Regions from separate parts of the Homo sapiens genome. Here all the other regions are linked to region 1. The links are contacts of gene promoters, found by promoter capture Hi-C in blood cells and fetal thymus (Javierre and others, 2016). All regions are on one chromosome and are shown on one strand. The core of a region is centred on a gene start or on the middle of the fragment in contact, and the rest is flanking DNA. Distances in the headings are between cores, read along the strand shown. Region 1 holds the start of PPP1R13L (protein phosphatase 1 regulatory subunit 13 like). Region 2 holds the start of EML2 (EMAP like 2). Region 3 overlaps OPA3 (outer mitochondrial membrane lipid metabolism regulator OPA3). Region 4 holds the start of MARK4 (microtubule affinity regulating kinase 4).

Region 1 (3,506 bases), core at 883-3,382:
GGACTCCTACAGCCCTGTCGGGTCACACTGAATCTGGAGAGGCTCCACTGTCTCTGGGACTCGGTTTCCTCCTTTGTGGACGTCTATGGAATGGGCTAGGGCCTTTCTTGCTCTAAGCCTCTACTTGGGCTTGTTATTTAGCTTCTCTGTGCCTGTTTCCTCATGTGGACCATGGGAAGAATTAATACCTTCGCCTCAAAGGGGTATGAGGATTGAGTGACATAATTTATAAGCCGTGATTAGAACAATGCAGTGCGCGAAATAAAGTTCACACATACAGGATTCATAATTACCAGATGTCCTTGGCTGTTCATTATAATAACACAGGGTCTGGCAACAGAGTGAGGGGTCCAGACTCAATGTAATTTTTTTTTCCCCTAAAAGGGCCCTTTCAACTCTTTCTGAGATCATACAAGCCCTGAGTTTTGACACCCAGGGTCTCAACTTCCTGAGCCCTTGCCTCTCAGAGTCCTAAATTTCCCCTGTACATTCCTGAGTCTGGCCAGTGATCACCCTCAGTCACTTAGGGACGGGAGGGCTGGGAGAGCCCTGGAAGATTCCAGACAGAAGCTGGCAAAAGCCCAGGGTGTGGGCAATATCCACTCTCCAGCCTCCGTTTCTCCACTCGTAATGAGGAGTCCTTCCCTGGGGTCAGCAAACCTTATTCAAAGGGAGACCTCTCAGTCACCCAAGATTCCTCTAGACAATGCGAGCTTTCCTACCTACCTACCTACCAGCTCTGAGCTTGGTACACCCAGAGCCCTGTTTTGGCAACCACGGTTATTATTTTTAATTTCATTTCAGGTTATCATCAAATGCCCTTCAAGCCCAGACATTGGGAAACACTCCTCTCTCATCAGATGCTCGCCTCCCCCATTCTGTTTTTAATCCCCCTTCTTAGGACGCATGGGGGTGGAGAGAACGGGGAGATAGACAGAGGGAGGTGCCTGGTCCTGCCCTCCCCCCGCCTCAAGGACAGACAGACACCTCCAGAATTAGCCTCTGTCCCTCCCTTATCTCCCACAATACCCCAGGTCAGACAGATGGGCGTGGAGGTGACATTTCTCACCTCAGGGTCAGGGCAAGGAGCCCTGAGGCAGAAGGTTAGTCAGAAAATCTGGCGGGGGCGGATGGAATCCCGTCCCCCAGAGAGCTGCAGAAGAAGGAGGAGGCAGAATCCTGACCCTACAAACTCTACTGCCTGTGTGAGCTCCAAGCCTCAGTTTACCCCTTCCTCTCCGTGTAATGGTTAAATGCCCGGCTATGCAAACCTCCCAGAATCCAATAGCCGCTTTCCGGAATTCTGCCCTGGGTTCTAGAACTACCTCTGCAAACCCAGCTGTTTCCCACCCCATAAGGCAATAGGGGAGCCCACCTCCGCCAGGGGGTGCCCTAGGGCGGATGTCCCTTCTCTGGTTAGGCAGGTCTGACGCCCAGGTTAATGACATGTTGGGTTCGCTCAGCGGCACAGAGGAGGTTGGAGATCTGCCTCGGTGTTTTCTCTCCTACCCCGCCCCCATCCCCGAGCCGAAAAGTCGGGGGAGAGCCGGGACACAGCCTCCGGAGGGACCCCGGGTACCTGTCCTGCTCCACTTCAGGAACCCAGGCTCCACTATCCCTGCCCCACCCTTAATTCTGCTCAGAGACCTAGAAGATCGGTCGAGACAGCAGCTTGAGGCTGGCAGGGTGGTCACCCATTCCACCTTGAGCCCCACCAGTCTGAGCCTCTCATTTCTGACCAAGACTCGGGGATTCGAACCCCTATACTACCCAAAGACTCGGCTTCCTAGAGCCCCCCAGTTCGAGGGACTCAGGAATTCCAGCTCCAACGTCTCCCCGGGATGAAGGGGTAGAATCCCTCCATTCCAAGAATTCAGGCATCCGAACCCGCTTTCCTTCCCTCCAGTAAAACAGGCAACGGAGTTTCCTTCTAAGGATCCAGGTGTCGGCGCGCCCCAAATTCCGCCCTGGGACCTGGCGTCCGAGTCCCCTCCCAATCCTCCCAGGGACGCGGGTGTTGGGCTTTTTCAGGGCCTCTGGTCCCCAGGAGGGTGAAACTCACGGATCCGGGCAGATCCTGGCACCTGGGGGCTTCCTCCAGCTCGGGCTCCGGCTTGGGGAGCGGAGAACGGGGCGGGGCAGGAGCTGGGAACAGGTTAGACGACGTGACTTGGGCTGGAGGGAGGCGGGTCCCGGTGGGGAGGGGGAGCCAAGGTCGCCTCGAGCACCTTGGGACTTGTAGTCCCGGAGGGACAGGACGTAGCCCAAGACGATCCCATTTGGATTCACCCAGAGTCCATTTCACAGACAGGAAGGGCGAGGCCCAGAAGCCGAGAGCGACCAGGCCAGGGAGATACAGAAGAGCCGAGACGCCTGCCTCGCTGTGGCTGGAGACTGACTCCTGAGCCCTTGCCCCACCCCTTCAGGCGCACTATCCCCTTTCCTGATCAGTATCCCCCAGGGTCTCTGAGCCCGAATCTCCCCGTCGATAAAAAGCGCGGGTTGGATCTTCAAAGGATGTCCCAGCAAGAGTTCAAAATCTTAGTTTGGACTACAACCCCCAGCAGCCTCCGCGACCGCCCTCGGGCGACTCTTTGCCTCGGGTCCTGTGGGAATTGTAGTCCTGGAGCCCGCAGGGGCTGCACCCCGGTGTCTCTCTCGCCCACGCGAAGGAAACCGTCTGGAGATCCTGGATAGGGGAAACATTTCCCCTTCCCCTTGACCCTCCCTCCGCTCTGGAAAGCCTCTCCCACCTGGGGAGAAGGGGTGCCCCAATTCTGGAGTAGGATCCTAAATCTTGGCAGAGGGGGCGGGAAGTGGCGCTGACACACTGGCCAGGAATGCAGTCGGGTCACCCTGTCTAGCCACCGTCTCGCGGCTCCAACCGCCGCCCAACGCGGGGCGGCCCCAGTGGGAAGGGAAGTGGGTGCGTCCCCCAAATCTGTGTCCACGTGCCGCTGTTTACACGCTCCCTGGGGCAGGGAGGAGTCGCCGATCAGGTCCCTTCCTGAAAGTCATCGAGGTTTCCCACGCATGAGACTAAACCCCCGAGGGCATCTACAAGTCCCATTTGATCCACAAACGCTACACCGTGCCCAGCACCACTCCACGCGTGTGGGGCTCCTGGGTCCGAGGCTCCGCCCTCGAGAACCACAAGCTCCTCCCCCTATGTTTCCCGCTCCCCCGGAGTCCAGAAGCCCCGCCCCTGGCTGGAACTTCACGCCCTCCGGACGGATTGCCCCTATTTCTCCATTTTCCCGCTTCTCCCAGTCAAGTTCTGAACTTGTGAGGCATCTGGGCCTCCCCAGAAGACATTTAACACAGAAAGCACAGCCCTACTAACTAGTATTCTTACCTGTCTCTTCAAGAATTTCAGACCAATCGACCGTCCTGTCTCTTTAAGGCTTAGGAAGAGCAGTGTGGCTGCCCCTTTAAGGAGGCGTTGCAACAAACCATATTGGACAGACGATGGGGGCGACCCATCGGGACCCGACGGGCCTCTGACT
Region 2 (3,506 bases), core at 596-3,095, 230 kb after region 1:
CACTGCAACCTCGACCTCCCAGGCTCAAGTGATGCTCCCACCTCAGCCTCCAGAGTAGCTGGGAACCACAGGAGCATGCCACCATGGCTGGCTATTTTTTTTTTCTTTTTCTTTTCTTTTTTTTTTTTTTTTTTTTTTTTTTGAGACGGAGTTTCACTCTTGTGGCCCAGGCCGGAAAGCAGTGGGGCAATCTCGGCTCACTGCAGCCTCTGCCTCCTGGGTTCAAGCGATTCTCCTGTCTCAGTCTCCCGAGTAGCTAGGTTTACAGGCACATGCCACCACACTCGGCTAATTTTTGTATTTTTAGTAGAGACAGGATTTCATCATATTGGTCAGGCTGGTCTCAAACTCCTGACCTCAGGTGATCTGCCCACCTCGGCCTCCCAAAGTGCTCAGATTACAGGCATGAGCCACCGCGCCCGGCCTGCTATTTTATTTCCTGTAAAGACGAGGTCTTGCTATGTTGCTCAGGCTGGTTTCAAACTCCTGGGTTCAAGTGATCCACCCACCTCGGCCTCCCAATGTGCTGAGTTAGTGTTTTATCAGTCCCTGTGCATGGGGCACATACTATGAGCTCAGTACCTTTACACATTATTTCACAGGTCTATGGACCTGAGATCATAAAATTCATTTTTCAGAGTCAAGACGACTTTTCCAGGGTCACACGGCCAGGTACGGGCTGGACTGGGGTTTGAACCCATCTCTGTCAGACTCCAGAGCCCGGGCTTCCAGCCATTCCCAACTCTTTTTGCTCAAATGCACCAATCCCACTCTGGCCACATAGCCCTTGAACGTGCTGTGCTTGTTTTGTGTGTTGCCCAGGCAGGTCTCAAACTCTTGGCCTCAAACGATCCTCCCAAAGTGCTGAGATTACAGGCCTGAGCTGCCTTGACCGCCTTTCTATTTCCTCCTGGGGGGATGGGAGCACCAAGGAGATTCCAGCAAAAGGATACACCCACTCCAGCTTGAGCCGGCAAGAAGGCAGCTCCGAGCGTGTGTCCAGGCTGTAGGTGGGTGCCAGCTCGTCTGGGATCATCATGGGCACAGGGCGGCCCCTCAGGAACATTTTCACGGAGCCATCCTCTGCCAGGACACCCCCAGAGGTCAGGCACTGACACCAGCCCCATCCCTATTCCCTCTCCTCTTCCAGCTTTATTTATTTATTTTTTTAAAGGCAGGGAAACTGAGGCCAGAGAGGCAAAGACCCAGTAGCCAAGACTCCTGACCTCTGGCTCCAGCCTGTCACCCCAACAAGCAAGCTTCCACCGAGCCCTTCCCCATCTCCCCACTCACCCACACTGAAGATAACTTCTTTGGTTTTGCTGTCAGGAAAGGACAAAGAAAAAAAAAGGGTCTTAGTATTCAGTTCAGAAAAGGGGAGAAACCATTCCTCCACCCCCACCGCTCCCCGGAGGTCTCCGATGAAAACGGGGCCGAGTAAGGGGCAGAGCGCTGCCTCTCTGCAGGCCGTGTGCTTTGCTCGGTTGATCTTGCAGAGCCTAAGACACAGGCCCAGAGAGGCAGTGATCGCCAAAGATCACACAGCACGAAGTGGCAGGGACGCGATCCTGGAAGAAGGGAGTCACCAAGGACCCTTCCCTCCTAATCAGCAAGGTGCTCCCCAGCGCCCCCCACCCGCAGTTCCCCCAGCACACCAAACGTCAAGCAGAGGGAGAAACGGGGAGAGTTTAAGGGAAGGGGCGTGTCCCCACGCCGGTCTGGGTCCCAGGGGTTGGGTGAAACCTGAGATCTAAGCCCCGGGAGCGCGGAGAGGAGATGGGGGGTGGTCTGCGAAAGGGTCTCACCCAGCTCCAAAGCTACTCATGGCGGCGGGTGGCGGAGCTTCGGGGCCGGGGGTGGAGCCGGGACCGGCTCTGCCGCTTCCGGCCCTGGGAGGCGCCCGGGCCGCCGCGCCCCTGCCCCGCCCTCCACAGCCACCCCTGGAGCCGGAGGGTCCCACCGGGTCACACATCCCGGGCTGTGGACTCCCGATCCCAGGTTCTTTCGGGGTGGGTGGGGGAGAGTGGTTGAGAACATGGACTCGGGAGCGCGCCTGCTTGAGTTAAAACCCCAGTTCTGCTAATTCCTAGCAGTGTACACAGGTCGTCCAACCTCTGCCTCGGTTTCCTCATTTAAAAAATGGGGATAATAAGAGTACCCGGCCGGGCGCGGTGGCTCATGCCTGTAATCCCAGCACTTTGGGAGGCCGAGGCGGGCAGATCACCTGAGGTCAGGAGTTCAAGACCAGCCTGGCCAACGTGGTGAAACCCCGTCTCTACTAAAAATACAAAACTTAGCCTGGCGTGGTGGCTGGCGCCTGTAATCCCAGCTACTTGGGAGGCTGAGGCAGGAAAATCATTCGAACTCGGGAGGCAGAGGTTACAGTGAGCTGAGATTGTGTCATTGCACTCCAGCCTGGGCAACGAGAACAAGACTCCGTCTCAAAATAAATAAATAAATAAGAGTACTCACACCTCCCGGGGGTAGTTGCGAGGGTGAAATTGGTTAATTATTGGGAAGTGCCTGGAGTATACACAACGCTGTATTTGTGTTTGCTATGTTTGAGCAGAGTTGAAATGTGCAGCTTTTGACCTTGGTCTTGCCCTTGCGTGGCCTCCTAGCGCTGACCACGCCCACTGCACCATAACTCCAGCCTTAGGGTGATTTTTGTTTTGTTTTGTTTTTGATACAGGGTGTGGCTCTGTCGACCAAACTGGAGTGCAATGGCGTGATCATGGCTCACTGAAACCTCGAATTTCCTAGGCTTAAGTGAGCCTCCTGCCGCAGCCTCCCAAGTAGCTGGGTCTACAAGCGAAGGCCAGCACGCCCGGCTATTTTCTTTCTCTCTCTTTTTTTTTTTGTTTTTTGTTTTTTGTTTTTTGTTTGTTTGTTTAACGGAGTCTTGCTCTGTCAGCAGGCTGGAGTGCAGTGGCGCGATCTCAGCTCACTGCAACCTCCGCCTCCCGGGTTGAAGTGATTCTCCTGCCTCAGCCTCCCGAGTAGCTGGGACTACAGGCACGCGCCACCACGCCCATTTTTGTATTATTAATAGACAGGGGGTTTCACCATGTTGGCCAGGATGGTCTCGATCTCTTGACCTTGTGATCCACCCGCCTAGGCCTCCCGAAGTGCTGGGATTACAGGCGTGAGCCACCGCGCCAGGCCTAATTTATTTTCATTTTTAGTAAAGACGAGGGCTCGCTATTTTGCCCAGCCTGGTCTCGAACTCCTGAGCTCAAGCGATGATTCCCGCCTCCGCCTCCCAAACTGCTAGAATTATATAGCCTTAGTTTTTGACTCTGTCCAGATCTTCAGTATGGCCCCGCCTCTGGAGTTGACCACGCCTGTCATTCTGAGCCTCCCTTCTAACCCTGTCCCTGAGTTGACTCAGTTGCTTGAGAATTGACTGCTACCTCCCGCCAACGCTCCTTCTCCGGCCCGCCAGGCATTCTGATTACGTCCATTTTCACGTATTCCTTATGTGAATACCTTCGAGGCCTCCAAGT
Region 3 (3,506 bases), core at 328-2,827, 150 kb after region 1:
GGGATTACAGGCGTGAGCCACCGTGCCTAGTCATTTTTGTATTTTTTTTAAAATAGAGATGGGGTTTATCAGTATGTTGCCTAGGCTGGTCTTGAACTCCTGGGCTCAAGTGATCTGGCTGCCTCGGCCTCCCAAAGTGCTGGGATTGCAATCGTGAGCCACTATGCCTGGCCTATATATATATATCTTTAAACCAGACATTGGTAGGCATCAAATCATTATTGTATGCGAACTGCAATAAATATGAAGGGAAGGATGCACCAGCTGTTTGAACATGTCAGTATCATAACACACCAGAACCAGAAATTCCATCCTTCACAACTACTTAAGGTTAATGAAGAAAAGTTTTACTTGTCAACTTGAAAATGCACTAGAGGGCACACAATTTATTTTTTCTTTTTCTGAGACAGGATCTCGTTCTGTTGCCCAGGCTGGAGTGCTGTGGAACAATCTCAGCTCACTGCAACCTCTGCCTCCCAGGCTCGAGTCATCTTCCCACCTCAGCCTCCTGAGTAGCTAGGACAACAGGTGCATGCCACCATGCCTGGCTAATTTTATTTTTTTTGGGTAGAGATGGGGTCTTGCCATATTCCATCTTATTTATTTATTTATTTAACAGATGGGCTCTCACTCTGTGGTCCAGGATGGAAGGCAGCGGCTCCATCACAGTTCACTGCAACCTCGAACACCTAGACTCAAGCAATTCTCCTGCCTCAGCCTCTGGAGCCGCTAGAACTATAGATGCCCCACCATGCCTGGCTGTTTTTAAATTGTTTTTTGGTAGAGACTGGGTCTTGCTATGTTGCCAAAGCAGGTCTTGAACTCCTGGGCTCAAGCAATCATCCTGCCTCAGCCTCCCAAAGTACTGGGACGACAGGAGACAGCCACTGAGCCCAGCCACTACACATTTTTCATCTTCAAAGGGGTGGGGTGGCAGGAAGGCTTGGGGAGCTCTGCTGGAGCTGGAGGGAAGACCTGAGGTGCAAGCTTAGGGCCCGAGAAGTCACTGTCACTGTCACTGTCAGCTGCTGCAGTTACTGTTACAGCTGTGACTTAGGCCCTGGGCTTGTGGGTTCCTGGGGTCCAGGCTGTGGAGACCCCTCCCACACTGAGGTCTTAGGGTCAGGCTGATCTGGGGTCCCCCCGGGGCTCCGCCACCTGCTGCCTGAGCAATGACAGCCTGCCCCAAGGCCCCTCTGTAACACAGGAAGGACAGCATCATCCTGACAATGACACTCGCCAGACCTGGTGGTGGCCCAGAGCTGGGCCCGTAACTGTCACTGCCTCCTTCATGTCAGGGACACCTAGCACAGTGGCCAGAGAGTGGTGAGGGGTGAGGGTTCCAGATCCTCTAGCCTTCCTGGGTGAGGTTCCCAGCGTGGAAATGCAAGTGTCTCAGTGCAGACCAAGCATGGGGATCTGGGCCAGCAGGTGGGTCTAGGTGTGCCAATGGGAGTGGGCACATACCCAGGCCACAGGAAATCAAATCAAGAGGGTGTGTGTGTGTGTGCACGCGTGTGTGCACGCAGGCATGGGCTTTCAGGGCTTTCAGAGCAGGGGCCGACGGCATTCTCCCTCGGGCCAGCGGTCAGATGTGGGGTTCAGGAAACAAGGCCCAGGTGGGGATGAATCACAGGGCTGTGATTCTAGAAGGGACAGCTGTGAGGGGCCGGGACAGGCTAAGCTGGAGGACTCACCAGACTTGCGGGGGTCAACACGCTCCAGATGTCTCCTAGACCTCTCACACTCAGCACATCCAAACCTGAACCCAGCACCTGGCCCCACACCTGTCCCCTGGCTAGAGACGGGGGCCTCAGCCCAGCTGTTCCCCTTCTCCCACAGCCTCTCAGCTGCGTGTCGGGTCCATTCTGCATCTTGAACATCTCTCCCAGTGGATTCCCTTCTGCTGTCCTGGTCCAGGATCCATCCCAGCTCTGACCAACGTTCTCCTCCCTGACCTCCTGAATAGGAGGAATACAGCCTGTCTATCCCCTTCTGAGTGCCTATCACAACCAGGAATAGTGGCTATCCAGTTACCTGTCTGCAATCAGTCTCCCCACTGTCCTGTAAGCCTCACAAGGGTGGGGCCCAGGGCTGTCACAGTCACTGCTGTGTCCCCAGCACTGCCCAGTGCCAGGCCAGGCACACGCATGATGCTCATTAGATCTAAGCTTAACACATAAGTGAGTCCCGCCTCCAGCCTCCTTCCCACCTGCCGGCCCCAGCCTCACCCCTCTGCAATTGTCCCCCACGCAGCAATCAGAAGGAATTGGTGAGAAGAAAAGAACAAACTGGCTGGGCGCGGTAGCTCAGGCCTTTAATCCCAGCGCTTTGGGAGGCTGAGACAGGCAGATCATGAGGTAAGGAGTTCAAGACCAGCCTGGCCAACATGGTGAAACCCATCTCCAGTAAAAATACAAAAAATTAGCGGGGCGTGGTGGGAGGCCCCTGTAATCCCACCTACTCGGGAGGCTGAGACAGGAGAATCGCTTGAACCCAGGAGGTGGAGGTTGCCGTGAGCCAAGACCACGCCACTGCACTCCAGCCTGGGCAACAAGAGCAAGACTGTCTCAAAAAAAGAAAAGAAAAGAACAAACCTACCATTCCCCGTCGCCCCACCCCCAACTCCTGCCGCAAATAAAAGTAACACATGGCAAGAAAACAAAGTACTCAAACTATAAAATGTAAAGCCAAAGTCCCCTCCTCAGAGGAACCCTCAACTACTGCGGTCGCCAGCCTGTTTTCCCCTAGCGCCATCTCCTGGACAGCCCATAGTAAGCATACCTCACTCATTTCTGAGCTCTTCAACTGGAGGTTTGTTCAGATCTACGCCATCGTTACCTACTCATAATCCAGCCCCACTATGAAAGGTGAGCACTCTGCCCCCATGCGGCCTGCCCTTTCTCCGCTCCCCCATTTCTACAGGGGATTTGTATGCAGTTTTTATTATTCTATGTTCTGCTGTTTTTTTTTTTTATTTTTTTTAGACGGAGTCTCGCTTTGTCCCCAAGGCTGGAGTGCAGTGGCATGATCTCCGCTCTGCAATGCAGTGGCCATGGAAACACTCTCCAGTGTGGTGTGACTAAGGCAGAGAGGAGACCCTCTGAGTGCTGCTTCATGAGACTTTGGTGCTTTTTTTTTTGATACAGAGTCTTGCTCTTGTTGCCCAGGCTGGAGTGCAGTGGCTTGATCTTGGCTCACTGCAACCTCTGCCTCCCGGGTTCGAGTGATTCTCCTGCCTGAGCCTCCCAAGTAGCTGGGATTACAGGCGCCCACCACCATGTCCGACTAATTTTTGTATTTTTAGTAGAGACGGGATTTCACCATGTTGGCCAGGCTGGTCTCAAACTCCTGACCTCAAGTGATCCATTCACCTTGGCCTCCCAAAGTACTGGGACTACAGGTGTGAGCCACCGTGTCTGGCCTAACTCCAACTTCATGAGAGATCTTAACCTATAATTTTCCTTTTCTGTAATGACTTTATCAGGCTTTGATATCAGTATTCT
Region 4 (3,506 bases), core at 686-3,185, 150 kb before region 1:
GGGCCTCTGTTTCCTCATCTGCAAATGGGATTGATAAAGATGCTCCCTACCTCTTGGGGTGGCAGAAAGGAGAAACTGCTCAGAGCCTGGCACAAGGGCAACTGCCATGAGTCTGTGTTGCTCATAGTATCAAGCAGTGCTGTGCTTTCACAACCAGCTTTTGGCTGAGTGCAGGGTAGTCCCAGCACTTTAGGAGGCCGAAGTGGGAGGATCGCCTGAGCCTGAGAGTTGGAGATCAGCCTGGGCAATATGGCTACAAAAAATTAGCTGGGCGTGGTGGTGCACACCTGTAGTCCCAGTGACTTGGTGGGGCTGAGCTGGGAGGATTGCTTGAGCCGGGGATGTCCAGGCTGCGGTGAGCCATAATCGTGCCACTGCACTCTAGCCTGGGTAATGCAGTGAGACCCTGTCTCAAAAACAAAACAAAGCAAAGCAAAACAAAACACCCCCAGCTCTCTGCAGGTGGGGGTGTGGAGCCTTAATTTGTAGCATTTGCCAATTTCCATGGTGTAAATATTCCCACCATGGCTAATTTCAAGCTACCAAGGTGATATCACATGGCATTTTTGCCCCCCATTATATAGTAATTTTACTGTGCAGCTACAATAGACGTAGGTAACCTCAAGATCACAGATAATGGCAAATGTAGTAAGATAACTAGGACGTGATGAGTATGTATTACTTGTACCTTTAATGTAATTTAATTGTATGTTTGCATAATTTAATTTTTAATAATGGCTGTGTTTAACAACCAGTTCCAAAATTCCTGAGACATAACAATCAGCTCGCTCCAGCCAGATCCAGCACACTGCTGTTTTAGAAGGGGAAACTGAGGCTCAGGAAAATAAGCCTCAGATAGAAGAAGGCAGGGCACAGACCCCTTCCCAAAACCATGTGACTCCCAGGCCAAGACTATGTAATGCCTGTCTTTCTTTCATCCCACCCTGGTCCACAGAGCATGGATGGTCCCCACAGCGCTGTGTGGCCTCCGAGAGGCTCTTGTCCTCTCTGGTCTCAGCCTGCCCGCATGGGGAGTGGCTGTGCCCTGCAGGCGAATACCTGCACAGGGTTCCTTCGCACCTGCCAGTGAGCAACACACGGATTCTTCCTTTCACTTTACAAACTGGGAAAGTGAAGCCCAGAAAGGGCAAGTGCTTGCCCCGGGTCATACAGGTGGACAGAGAGGGTCCCCACACCCCAGCTGGGGTGCAAAGGAGTGGATGCTGCAGCCCCAACCTGCGGGTCTGGATCTATGTGGCTGAGTGGAGGCAGCCTGACTAGGGAGGTCACTGAGCCCTCAGCAGTGGCCAAGCCCCGCACACCATCCCCTTCACCCACCCCACCCTTAGGCCTCCGAGGGGAGAGCTTCCCCCGCTCCCCCCCGCCAACTGGGGAGAGAATGGGCCAGGGGGAGGGACAATGTGGGCAGCGCCTCTGGGGTCTTCTCTGGCTCAGTCCCTTTATCTCTATCTCTTCACAGATCTCTGCGTCTCTGTATCTCTTTGTCTCTCCCTGTGTGTGTGTGGGGTCTCTCTCAGTCTTTGTCCCTCTGCGTCTCTGGGTCTCTCTGTCTCTGTCTCCCTGCGTCTCTCTCTCTCTGTCATCTGGCTCTTCCTTCATCTCCTTGCGCCTCTCCACCCTTTTGTAACTCGTCTCTCTCTCTTCGTGTCTCTCTATCTCTACGTCTCTCGATCTCTCTCTCTGCGTCTCTGGCGCTCTGCCCCGGCCTCTCTCTCCCCTTCTCTCCTCTCCAGTGCGCCTCTCGTCTCGGGCGAGAACACGCTCCCCGCCGGCGTGCCCAGACCCGCCTCCGCCCCCGGAGCCCCCGGAGCCCCCGGCGCCCCGACCAGCCCGGGCCTGCGCCTTTAAGGGCCGGCGGCGGGGGGCGGGGTCCCGGCGCCCCGCCCTGCCCGCCCCTCCCCCTGACGTCCCTTCCTCCCTCCCCAGCCCCTCCACCGCCTCCCTCCGCCGCCGCTTGGGCCGGCTCCGCGCCCCCTCCGCGGCCCCCGCCCGCCCGCCTGCCCGCCGCCCCCATGGCGCCCGGGGTCCCCGCTGCACGGGGCCACTAGGACCCTCGGCGTCCCTTCCCCTCCCCCGCCCTGCCCCCTCTCCCGCCGCGCGGACCCGGGCGTTCTCGGCGCCCAGCTTTTGAGCTCGCGTCCCCAGGCCGGCGGGGGGGGAGGGGAAGAGAGGGGACCCTGGGACCCCCGCCCCCCCCACCCGGCCGCCCCTGCCCCCCGGGACCCGGAGAAGATGTCTTCGCGGACGGTGCTGGCCCCGGGCAACGATCGGAACTCGGACACGGTGAGTGGGGCCCGGCCCCTTGGGGAGCCCTGGCTGGGTCCAGCCGCCAAACCCTTCTCCCCGTTGTACCCCTCGCCCCGCGAGCCCCTACCCTCGTTTCCTGGGCCCGACCCGGCTCGTCACCTCTCGACCCCTCCCGGACTTCCAGGCCTCTCCACCCTCCCCACCTTTTCCAGCCCAGCCCGACCCCTGGGGGCGCCCCTCTCTCGGGACCCCTCTCTTGTCCCCGTGCAGACCGCTTCCGCTCGGGTCTGTTCCCTCCAGGAAGCCCCTTCCCCTGCTTCCAGGAGCCCCTCCCTTCTCTTGCCTGTGCTAAGCCGTTTCCCCTCCAGGCCGTCCGCGTCCGACACCTCGCCCCCTCCCGGATTTGCAGGGCCCCTGACCCCCCAAGGCCCGGCCCTGGCACTCTCAGCAGGGCCTGGCCCAGTCCTGCCTCTGGCTCCGGCCTTCCCTGTCTGGGGCTGGGTGCCGGCTCCCCAGGAGCCCCCCTCCTCTTATTCCCAGCCCTCTGCCCCTCCAGGACGCACCCAGGGCGCCTGTGGGCAGCCCCTGGCAGGAAGCTGGTTTCCACCTCTCCTGGGCCCCGGCCCTTTTCTGGCTTCTTCAAGGTCTCTCCCGTCCCAGGCCTGGTCCCCATCTTCCAAGCAGCCCTGTCCCTAGATCCCAGCACCCCGGGGCCCCCAGATGCCACCTGGACCCTTTCTGGTCTCTTCCTCTCCCAGGAAGCCTTGGCCTCCAACTTCTAGGCCCTCACCTCACCCAGGCTGGTATTTCTAGGCCCTGGACCAGTCTGACTCCAGGCCTCATCCGCCCTCTATCAACTTCTCAGCTTCAGGCAGCCCCTTCCCCAACCCCCAACCTCTGGACCCCCTGCTAGGCCAAACTCAGACCCCTTCCCCACAAACCACCGTCCTTTCTCCTGCCCCAGGGCCTCCCCCTTCCTTGCTGGGAGTCTGGCCTTCCAAGGAAGCCCCCTCCTCAGCTTCAGAGGCCTTCCTCAGCTACAGGGCCTGGCCCCAGATCCTTCTTCCAGAAAACTCCTGGACCTGAAGCCTCTCGTCTTGCCCTGGTTTCAAGCCCTTTTCCCTTGGGTCAATCTGCTGGAAGCTTTCTCCCCAAATTTCTAGACCCCTTGACCTTCCCCAGGGCTCAGCCTTTATTCATCTGGGCTGCTCCTTGCCCAAGAAGTTCCTACCCCATAC

Evidence for each region. Contacts are between HindIII fragments. The CHiCAGO score rates a contact against its expected background, and 5 or more counts as called.
Region 2: a contact is called between the fragment with the promoter of EML2 here and the fragment with the promoter of PPP1R13L in region 1, in 8 of 17 cell types (naive B cells, total B cells, endothelial precursors and 5 more). The highest score is 10.7, in naive B cells.
Region 3: a fragment that was not itself captured here is called in contact with the fragment with the promoter of PPP1R13L in region 1 in 2 of 17 cell types (monocytes and naive B cells); the score reaches 6.5 in monocytes.
Region 4: a contact is called between the fragment with the promoter of MARK4 here and the fragment with the promoter of PPP1R13L in region 1, in 1 of 17 cell types (M1 macrophages). The highest score is 5.1, in M1 macrophages.

Annotation. Positions count from the first base shown.
Region 1 is chr19:45,402,937-45,406,442 of GRCh38, forward strand. PPP1R13L (protein phosphatase 1 regulatory subunit 13 like) reads right to left here and starts at 2,133. Exons shown (of 13, transcript NM_006663.4): 1 at 2,063-2,133. RefSeq lists enhancers at 2,019-2,814, 2,785-2,984. The HindIII fragment of the contact is 7,528 bases long and covers 1-3,506 here.
Region 2 is chr19:45,637,552-45,641,057 of GRCh38, forward strand. EML2 (EMAP like 2) reads right to left here and starts at 1,846. Exons shown (of 19, transcript NM_012155.4): 1 at 1,806-1,846; 2 at 1,294-1,322; 3 at 954-1,083. The coding sequence starts at 1,825. It overlaps MIR330 (microRNA 330), which reads right to left and starts at 1,536; the gene lies at 1,443-1,536. RefSeq lists enhancers at 672-1,523, 760-1,054, 1,524-2,375 and silencers at 760-1,054, 1,751-2,030, 2,051-2,140. The HindIII fragment of the contact is 2,349 bases long and covers 1,258-3,506 here.
Region 3 is chr19:45,555,759-45,559,264 of GRCh38, forward strand. The region is part of intron 1 of OPA3 (outer mitochondrial membrane lipid metabolism regulator OPA3); the gene reads right to left. Among named protein-coding and RNA genes, the nearest start is that of OPA3, 27 kb to the right of the region's middle. RefSeq lists an enhancer at 2,271-2,771. The HindIII fragment of the contact is 1,184 bases long and covers 986-2,169 here.
Region 4 is chr19:45,249,336-45,252,841 of GRCh38, forward strand. MARK4 (microtubule affinity regulating kinase 4) reads left to right here and starts at 1,936. Exons shown (of 17, transcript NM_001199867.2): 1 at 1,936-2,304. The coding sequence starts at 2,254. RefSeq lists silencers at 1,611-1,990, 2,221-2,370 and an enhancer at 2,844-3,400. The HindIII fragment of the contact is 10,557 bases long and covers 1-3,409 here.